Regions from separate parts of the Homo sapiens genome. Here region 2 is linked to region 1. Evidence: promoter capture Hi-C in human tissues and cell types (Jung and others, 2019). All regions are on one chromosome and are shown on one strand. The core of a region is centred on a gene start or on the middle of the fragment in contact, and the rest is flanking DNA. Distances in the headings are between cores, read along the strand shown. Region 1 holds the start of ZKSCAN1 (zinc finger with KRAB and SCAN domains 1). Region 2 has its middle 3.8 kb from the start of OR2AE1.

Region 1 (5,049 bases), core at 1,413-3,912:
CTTGGGTGGATACCACCTGATCTTGTCAGCTGAGCTTGTTTGCTGACAGGTCTAGAACCCTGGGGTTACAAACGTTATTGCCTATATTCCCTCTGACTATCTGTGGGACCAGTAATCTCATTTCTTGGAATCCATCCTTAGGAAGTAATCAAAGATGTCGAGGCCAGGCGCGGTGGCTCACACTTGTAATCCCAGCACTTTGAGAGGCTGAGGTGGGTGGATCACTTGAGGCCAGGAGTTCGAGACCAGCATGGCCAACATGGTAAAACCCCATCTCTACTAAAAATACACAAATTAGCCAGGCATGGTGAGTGCACACCTGTAATCCTAGCTACTTGGGAGGCTGAGGCATGAGAATCACTTGAGCCCAGGAGGCGGAGGTTGCAGTGAGCTGAGATCACGCCATTGCACTCCAACATGGCAACTGAGGGAAACTCTCTCAAAAAAAAAGAAAGAAAAGAGGCCAGGTGCAGTGACTCACACCTGTAATCCTAGCACTTTGGGAGGCCGAGGCTGGTGGATCACTTCCTGCCTCTGCCACCCCTGAGACAGCAAGAGCAACCCTTCCTCTTCCTCCTCAGCTTACTCAGTGTGAAGACGATGAGTATGAAGACCTTGATGATGATCTATTTCCACTTACTGAATAGTAAATATATTTTCTCTTCCTTAAAAAACAGTGTTCACATGATATGAATGTAGCAGATACTTCCAGGATACCAGCCTCCTCTTCAATACAACTGCAACTATGGTTTTGAACAGTGTTTAAAATAATATCAATAAATATTTATTTGTATATGAAAACAGGAAAAAGGTAAACTAAAGCCATGGGGATTGTGTTAGGGTGGAGAGATTACCGGTAATTATTTTTCTCCATTTTGCAAATTTCCTTTAATGATACTGTTGTTGCTTCTTTTTTGGATACAGAGTCTAGCTCTGTCCCCAGGCTGGAGAGCAGTGGCACGATCTCGGCTCACTGCAGCCTCCGCCTCTGGAGTTCAAGCGATTCTCCTGCCTCAGCCTCCCAAGTAGCTGGGACTATAGGCGTGTGCCACCACGCCCAGCTAATTTTTGTATTTTTAGTAGAGACGGGGTTTCACCATATGGGCCAGGATGATCTCAATCTCTTGACTTCGTGATCCACCCACCTTGGCCTCCCAAACTGCTGGGATTACAGGCATGAGCCACCGTGCCCGGCCCTTTTTTTCTTTTTTGAGATGGGATCTTGCTCTGTGGCCCAGACTGGGGTGCAATGGCACAATCATAGCTCACTGCAGCCTCAACCTCCTGGGCTCAATCTATCCTTCTACCTCAGCCTCCCAAGCAGCTGGGACCACTGGCACACACTACCCTGCACCCAGCTAATTTTAGTATTTTTTGTAGAGAGAGGGTCTCATTACGTTGCTTAGGCTGGTCTCCAACTCTTGGGCTCAAGAATCCTCCCGTCCCAGCCTCCCGAAGTGCTAAGATTACAGGCTTGAGTCATCGTGTCTGGCCCTGTCATTGCTTTTTAGTTTTCAAACATTTTTTAAAAAGTAAATCTGGCCGGGCACGGTGGCTCACGCCTGTAATTCCAGCACTTTGGGAGGCTGAGGCGGGTGGATCACAAGGTCAGTAGATCGAGACCATCCTGGCCAATATGGTGAAACCCTGTTCTCTACCAAAAATACAAAAATTAACCAGGCATGGTGGTGTGCGCCTGTAGTCCCAGGTACTCAGGAGGCTAAGGCAGGAGAATCGCTTGAACCTGGGAGGTGGAGGTTGCAGTGAGCCAAGATGGTGCCACTGCACTGCAGGCTGGGTGACAGAGCGAGACTCCATCTAAAAAAAAAAAGTAAATCTCTCCAAGCAGTAAGAGTCATGCAACCAAGCTACTGAGTTTCTCCCATGAACTTGTCTCGGAACATAGTGGAAAGTCACAACCATTAAAGCCTGTAGTCCCCCCCACCCTTGCACAACGTGGCCCCCTCTTATGCGTGCCTTACCCTGCAAGGCAAAGATGAAGGCTGTAACTGTGGTAGGTTGTGAAAGCACTTTGAAGGTAAAAGTGTCTGTTGTTACTCTGAAAACTCCTTTTAAACGGCTATAATAGCATATGCCACATGAGCAAAGCACAGAACCTTATAACTATGCTTGCTTGTGGAAAGACATCCCTTGTCCACGGGCCAAGTATTTGAAAATACCACTCCATATAGCTCCAGGGCCCTGAGAGAAGCTACCGTGGCAGCTTTGGGAAACCAGCCACCCTTGGCTTCACTTTGATCTTCCTCAGTCTACATCCTTGTTTCAGTTCCTTTGCCACAGACATACAATTACCAAGTACTATATTGCTTGATAATAACTATAATTACTACAAGGACTGCCTGAGATGAAAAAGACAGGTGAAATCGAACTTTCACATGGACTGGTGTCTGAGCTGGAGAGTCTGTTTGAGTTTGAGTAGGGGAAAGCCTGAAACCCCCCACCACCTGCTCCCGTTAGTCCCTGCATTAACTAGGGGCGGACTGGGACCTGATCCTCCAAGCTGGAGGCTTGAAAACTCAAGGGCAGGCGCCTGGTCCAGCGATTCGGAAACCGAGATGCAAAGTCCTCCCGCGCTCCTAGAGAGGACCCGGAAGCGCGGCGCGGTCCCGGAAGACGAGGTGGTGACACGCTTCCGGCCTTTGTGACTCATTGTGTCTGTGTCGAGGCGTCGGGAGGGCCTAAGTCCGTGTGCGGTGCCCTTCGGCCGGCCTGAGCCCCAGAGTCAGCTCCCCTTTCTCGCCCAGCGCCCCCAGGCCGCTCCCGGGGCTCACGGTGAGACTTGGGGCCGGCCTCTGGGGTGGGAGGGCGGGGCCGCAAGGGTGTGTGCGCGAGGGTGGGCTCCGCAGCTGCGGCCCTGGGACCCCCTCCAGGCGGCCCCGCTGTTGTGCGAAGAGAGTCCATGCCCCTGCCTCCTGGCCGGGCCCGGCCGTAGAAAGCGCCGTTCTTCCTGGGAGACGTCCCCGCCCCACCCCCAGGATCAGGCGGGGAGGGGGCGAGGGTTTCAGTGGCTGAGGGTGCCCGGAGACCCGGGGAGAAGCCGTCTGTGGGCCCCTCTCCCGCAGTGTCGTCATCGCCCTTTGACGTTTCTGCAAACGGGGTCGCGAGCGAACCGACCCCGGTCTTGATTTTTCTGCTCTCCCTTAGTCGCCATTTGCTTTGATTCCGGTGAGGTGTCTTTTTCCCCCCCCGGTTCCTTCGGGACCTCGAGGTGAAATGAGCGGAAGGATGAGAGATGGACACATTTTGAGGTGCCGCATACGTTTCCAGACCTGCCTTTCCTTCTCCCACCCTCATCACTGAGCGGTGATTAAAGAGTATTTGAAGCCTAGTCATAGTGGATAAATAGGTGATTGGGATCTAGTAGAGATTATATACACCCCACTCTTTCAGCTTGATGGAATGCTTTGAAGGCTTTGGAAAAGAGCTGTCCGGGACGTTAGGTGGATTTTTCAATTCTGGATAGTTGCTCTGTTTGACATGGAGTGGGGTGAGAAGTGAAGGGAATTTGTGGAAATTGCACTGTGTCACTAGGAGACTGATTAGCTGAGTGACCTTGGATAAGACGAGACACTCACCAAGTCTTAATTTCGTCATCAATAAAAACTAACTGGATTTTCTCAAAAGGCCCTTCCGACTTCGAAATGATTTGGTCAATGTAATTGAAGAATTAACTACAGTTTAGCTTGACACTCCTCCATCCCTCCCCTCCCTTTCCTGCAGTGCCCCCTGTACACAGTAAGATACTTTCATTATAGAGAGTGGCTGTTCCATGGCCTGGGACCAAAGAAAGCATTTATTGTACGGGCCAGTGCTAGGCGGATTGGAGGCGGTCAATAAATACTTGTTGAATTGAATTGTGGAGAATTCATTGTAACCACATCAGCAAAGCACTGTTAGTATATATGCTGAACAAATGTGGAGAAATCGCTGTTTTACATAGGAAACCATGGTGATTTGCCCCAGAATGTGTATCCAGGTTTGTATCTTCTCTGAATTAACATATAAGATTCTTGTTTATTATTTCAGGCAGTTTTCACCACTCTTAAAATACAAACGAGGAAGCTAGCTACTTAGTCTTTTGCTCATTCTCGATTTAAAAGCATTTAAAATACAGATGAATAGCATATTAAATCTAACATTTTCATTCTGTGGGAGTATCAATATTCTTTGAATAGCTAGCTGTCTTTTAAGGTAGCTTTTTCATATTAAAACATTTGATTGCTCTTTAAAAAAATGAGTGTAAAGGGCAAAGGGCAATTTATTTAAAAAAAAATTTTTTTTTTTTTGAGACAGAGTCTTGCTCTGTCGCCCAGGCTGGAGTGCAGTGGTGCGATCTCGGCTTACTGCAACCTCTGCCTCCCGAGTTCAAGCGATCCTCCTGCCTCCGCCTCCCGAATAGCTGGGACTACAGGCATGTGTCCCAAGGCTTGGCTGATTTTTGTATTTTTAGTAGAGACAGAGTTTCGCCATGTTGGCCAGGCTGGTCTCGAACGCCTGATCTCAGGCAGTCCGCCAACCTCAGCCTCCCAAAGTGCTGGGATTACGGGCGTGAGCCACTGTGTGCCCAGCCTTTGTTTACATTTTCAAGACTATGCCCTGGAAAAATACTGGGCTGTTTGGAACACAGCCTTTGAGCTTGTAACTTCAAGCCGTTGTTTAAGAAAATCATTTCTGTTTATCCTAGGTGAGAACTGAGGTATCCTTAGCTGCTGGAGGTAATTTTATTTAAAGTGGATGGTATGTCAGTATGTTTTTCAGCCCATATTCACCCAGAGGTAGTTTCCTACTATCTGGAACCCCCACCCTACCCCCATTTGACTGATAAAGATACAAAATGCCAGAGAAGTTAAATACCTCTCTCAGGGATGTGCCACTTACTTGTGGGAGACTAGAATTCAGTTATTGCCTGTGCAGCTTTCACTATTACAGGAGTTGTCCCATTGCTTAATCTTCTAAGCAGGCTGAAAATTGGAATGTACAGTTACATCTTTTAAGCTTATTGAAAAAAATTAAGACATTTCTGTAGTG
Region 2 (5,486 bases), core at 1,562-4,061, 130 kb before region 1:
GGTCTCCATCTCCTGACCTCGTGATCCCCCCGCCTCGGCCTCCCAAAGTGCTGGGATTACAGGCGTGAACCACCGCACCCGGCCGCTGGGGCGCTTCTTAATGGCCAGATTAAAAATGCACACACCTGGCCGGGCGCGGCGGCTCACGCCTGTAATCCCAGCACTTTGGGAGGCCGAGGCAGGTGGATCACGAGGTCAGGAGATGGAGACCATCCTGGCTAACACGGTGAAACCCCGTCTCTACTAAAAATACAAAAAATTTGCCGGGCGTGGTGGCGGGCGCCTGTAGTCCCAGCTACTCGGGAGGCTGAGGCAAGAGAATGGTGTGAACCCAGGAAGCGGAGCTTGCAGTGAGTGGAGATCGCATCACTGCACTCCAGCCTGGGCAACAGAGCGAGACTCCGTCTTAAAAAAAAAAATAAAAAAAAAAAAATAAAAAAAAAAAAGAATGCACACACCTGACCCAGAAGTCAGAAAAACTAAAGGAGAATCCAAGGGAAGGCCTTTTGAAGACCATCTGGTTGGCAACACGTTTTGGTGCTGGGGCAGTGTCCTCTAGGATGTGAAATATACTCTAAATCTGCATCCAATTTATGCTGCTCTTCCTCCCATAGCAAGATTCATGGAACCAGAAATCACCAGGTAGAAGAGAGAATGAGTCCTCTCACTATAGCCCCCATAACTGTGACCCACCAGCACAATTTTAGTTTTCTATCCCTTCACTTTTAGCTTTTGCTGTTTTAGAGGTCTTAGTTCCAAAGGGAGAAATTCTTCTACCAGGTGTCACAACAATAATCCCATTTTCTGATAGTTAAGACTGCCACCATGCCACTTGGGGCTCCTCATAGAACTGAATCAATAGGCAAATAAGGTTACTCTATTGGCTAGTAAGACTGATTCTGACTAGCAATGGGAAATTCAGTCACTACTATACAGTGAGGATATGGAGAATTATGTCTGCAGTCAGATTTTCTAGGGTGTACTCTCATGTCTCATGATGTAAGCCAATAGAAAACTACAACCCAATTCAGACAAGACTGCTAGTGGCCCAGATGCTTCAGGAATAAAGGTTTGGGTTACCCCACCAGGCAAAGAGTCATGAATAACTGTAGACAAAGAGAATTGGAATGGGTAGTGAAAGCAAGTCGTTATAAATACCAGCCAAAAACCATGTGAGCAGCTACAGAAACAAAAACTGTAATAGTTATGGGCATTTATTCTGTGTGTGTGTGTATGTGTACTGAATATTTGTTTTCTTCTCCTCTGTCATCCCCCGTATCTAACATAAGATGTATTAATAATTGTTAATTTCAGGCAGGGGACAGTGGCTCAGGTCTGTAATCCCAGCACTTTGGGAGGCCAAGGCAGGCAGATCACCTGAGGTCAGGACTTTGAGACCAGCCTGGCCAACATAGTGAAACCCTGTCTCTACTAAAAATACAAAAATTAGCCAGGCTTGGTGGCACATACCTGTAATTGCAGCTACTCGAGGGGCTGAGGCATTAGAATCCCTTGAACCCGGGAGGTGGAGTTTGCAGTGAGCCAAGATTGTGCCACTGCACTCTAGCCTGGGCGACAGGGCAAGACTCTGTCTCAAAAAAAAAAAGTAATCTTAATTGATTCCTCAAATATCCACCCTATTCTTTTTTGTGTTTTTTCTCCTAAATGTCTTTCTAGACCTTCATGCGGTGACGATTATCTATTTACTTCTTAAAGCAAAGAACTCAGAACTGAATGCATTCTCCCAAGCATTTGATCAGTAAGAAAGAGGTCACATCTGGCCGGGCGCGGTCGCTCATGCCTGTAATCCTGGCACTTTGGGAGGCCACGACAAGTGGATCACCTGAGGTCAGGAGTTCGAGACCAGCCTGACCAACATGTAGAAACCCCGTCTCTACTGAAAATACAAAATTAGCCGGGCGTGGTGGCGCATGCCTGTAATCCCAGCTACTCCAGAGGCTGAGGCAGGAGAATCGCTAGAACCCAGGAGGCAGATGATGCAGTGAGCCGAGATCACACCATTGCACTCCACCTTGAGCAACAAGAGCAAAATTCTGTCTCAAAAAAAAAAAAAAAAGTCACATCTATTACTGTCTCTCTCCTAATGCAGTCTACAGTCTCATCTTTCTGGCTGTCACTTCACACTGTTATTTCACACTCAGCTTCTGGTGGACTAGAAGCTCAACTTCTCCCATGCTCCTCCTGATCACTCCAACCCATTAGAGATCTCCACACACTTCCCTTTTATTTAAGTATCCATATACTTCTCTATCACTTTCCACATTAGTGTCCATCTTTCTCTACAAATCTCCATGGTGTAAGTTTTTCACCATCTGACCTGTGTCTCTCTTCCTCCCTTCAGCAACTTTGCTAATAATTTCCCATTCTGATTTGTGGCCTTCAAGTGACTTTTTTTTTTCTCTGCCTTCCAAGGAAGCTTTCCTTATGGATTGACTTAAGGGATAAGCTGACAATGCCCTAATTTATAATAAAGGTTTCCTAAATACCTCAAGCCCTAATATTATCTTACCTGTTATTTCCCTGCAGAGACTCGTAGGAAGACAAAGCATAGAAATGAAATGCAGAGGGCAAGAGAGGTCCACACTGACCCACCTGTTGGCTACTGTTGATCAAAACAAGCCTTTTCTGAGGTGCTCACCAGACTTCCTTCCCTAAGCCTGGAAATTTCCATTTACGTTACATTTACTGTGGAACGGCATAGAAGAAATTGCCCCAACGCAGGCATTGTTGTTTGCACTAATTACCCTAATGGCAGAATATCACCAGGACCAATGGGACACATGTGTGTTCATATTGTGAGCTCCATCAACACACATCAGGACAGATTAAGTAACTGAACTTTAGCCTCTACTAGTTGGACCTTTGAATCACACATATGCTTCCTCTGGCTCTATATGTATATTTGAGACAACCCTCCATTCCAATATCGGAGCTTGGGCAATAGGAATTTCCATTAATATTACTTTATTAAGAAGGTAAACTGAATACCAGTTTAATCATGAATGTGCCCAGAGTCAAAAGAAAATCTGTTATGGTTTTCCATTGTTTTGGATCTCTCAAGGCACTCTCTTCTTAGCTTTACACTTCCTTCCCTACTTAATAAAATATGAATTTGGCTGATGCAGTCAGGAAGCACTTTTCTGACTGCATAAATGTCTTCTCAATAGTAATCATGGGGGTTAGAGTAAGAACATTCTTGGTCTGATGTGAGCCAATCATAAGAAAAAACAGACATCATCTGGGAGAAATAAAACATCCCCCTAACCCAGAGGACCTATGTCAGCTGAAGCAAATTGTGGACACTAAATAGAATGGCGTCAGGGATTCCATCCCAGAGGACACATCTTGCATGGCTTCTGGAGACCATTACTCAAGATGTCAATTAGACTGTGCTGTATGCACTGAGATAAGCATCCCCAAAGGGCTTTACTTGGAGTTTGTTCCAAGTGATCAGGAGAATGAGATATTTTGCGGAGTGAGCCTGAAGATAACAGGAGAATATTCTCCTCAGGGGCCAATTAACTGTGGAGATAAAAAATTCTTAGAGTCCCTTGATTGTTTTTCACTTGGGAACCCAGATTTCTGTAACGCCTTTCCACGCAACCCTTTTGAGAAGACAGTCTGAGTAATAATATCTAGTCTCTTTTGCCCACAGGACCCTTTTGAGGGTTTCCATGTGCCATATCATAGGAAAGAAGTCAAGGAATAGAGGCAGGCAGTTCCCATCCTAGCTGTTGATCGTACTCCAATTTCATAGACTACATGAATATAACATGTCAAGAGATTTCAGGTCGAGTGCGGTGGCTCACACCTTTAATCCCAGCACTTTGGGAGATGGAGGCAGGTGGATTACTTGAGGTCAGAAGTCTGAGACCAGCCTGGCCAACATGGCAGAACCCTGTCTGTACTAAAAATACAAAAATTAGCCAGGCATGGTGGCACACATCTGTAGTCCAAACTACTCGGGAGACTGAGGCAGGAGAATCACTTGAACCCGAGAGGTGTAGGTTGCAGTGAGCTGAGATCGCACCACAGCACTCCAGCCTGGGTGACAGAGTAAAACTTCATCTCCAAAAAAAAAAAAGAAAGAAAGAAAGAAAAAGATTTCAGACACAGAGGGAAAAGGAAAAAATGGCATAACCCTACCTCTCCTTCTTATGCACTCCGATATCATTCTCATACCCTGCCCTTCCTTTCCATTATAGGGATATGTTGACCTCTTCTTTGTTTCTCCATCTCAACTCAAATCCTAAAATGTTTTGCTTCACTGATATTCGCTGGTTGTTTAAAATTGTGTAGCACTCTCCCCAACTCTCTCTCACTCCTGCTTTCTCCATGTGACCTACCTGCTCTCACTTTGCCTTCTACGGTGAGTAAAAGCTCCCTGAGGCCTCCCAAGAAGATCATCGGACACAAGCACCAGGCTTCCTGTACAGCCTGCAGAACCATGAGCCAATTAAACCTCTTTTCTTTATACATTACCCAGCCTTGGGTACTTCTTATAGCAATGGAGGAATAACCTAATACAGATTGCAAATAATTTCTCTCATTCAATAGGTGGGCTTTTTATTTTTATTTTTTATCGTTTCTTTGCTGTGCAGAAGCTTTTGAGTTTGATGTCTTCCCACTTGCCCGTTTTTGCTTTTGTTGCCTTCTTTTGGTGTCATACCCAAGAAATCATTATAAAGGCTAATGTCAAGAAGCTTTTCCCTTATGTTTTCCTCTAGGAGTTTTATGGTTTCAGGTCTTACATTTTGGTCTTTAATTCATTTTATGCTGATTTTTGTGTATGGTGTAAGAGAGGGGTTTAATTTCTTTGTTTGCATGCGGATATCCAGTTTTCCCAAAACCAGTTATTAAAGAGACTATCTTTTCTTTTTTTTTTTTTGAGACGGAGTCTCACTGTTTTGCCAGGCTGGAGTGCAATGGCGTGATCTCGGCTCACTGCAACCTCTGCCTCCCAGGTTCAAGCAATTCTCCTGCCTCAGCCTTCCAAGTAGCTGGGATTACAGGCACATGCCGACATGCCCAGATAATTTTTGTATTTTTAGTAGAGACGGGGTTTCACCACGTTGGCCAGGATGGAAAAGAGACTATCCTGTCTTTATTGTGCATTCTTGGCACACTTGTTGAAGATAAGCTGACTGTATATGCATGGGTTTATTTCTGCACTGCCTATTCTGTTCTGTTTGTCTATCTGTCTGTTTTTATGCCAATACTGAAGCGACATCATTTGTCTGGGGAAATACCCAAGGTTCGTTGTCTTGTGCTAAGGAAATCAAATATGAGGACACATACAAGGAGTGGGTTTAAGAGCAGAACTTTAATTAAAGTGAAAGAAAGAAGACAGAGCTTCCTCATGCAGAGGAAGGGAACCAAAGTGGGTTTCCAGGTTTGGGGTGAGATGCAGTTGACTTTATAGAGGGGCTTAGAAAGGCAGTGTCTGATTTTCATAGGGCCCATGG

What was found. Contacts are between HindIII fragments. The study calls those that stand out against the background at their distance.
Region 2: a contact is called between a fragment that was not itself captured here and the fragment with the promoter of ZKSCAN1 in region 1, in 1 of the 25 tissues and cell types used here (pancreas).

What each region holds. Positions count from the first base shown.
Region 1 is chr7:100,012,934-100,017,982 of GRCh38, forward strand. ZKSCAN1 (zinc finger with KRAB and SCAN domains 1) reads left to right here and starts at 2,663. Exons shown (of 6, transcript NM_003439.4): 1 at 2,663-2,793. RefSeq lists a silencer at 2,749-2,918. The HindIII fragment of the contact is 22,044 bases long and covers 1-5,049 here.
Region 2 is chr7:99,878,118-99,883,603 of GRCh38, forward strand. No RefSeq gene overlaps it. Among named protein-coding and RNA genes, the nearest start is that of OR2AE1, 3.8 kb to the left of the region's middle. The HindIII fragment of the contact is 3,725 bases long and covers 950-4,674 here.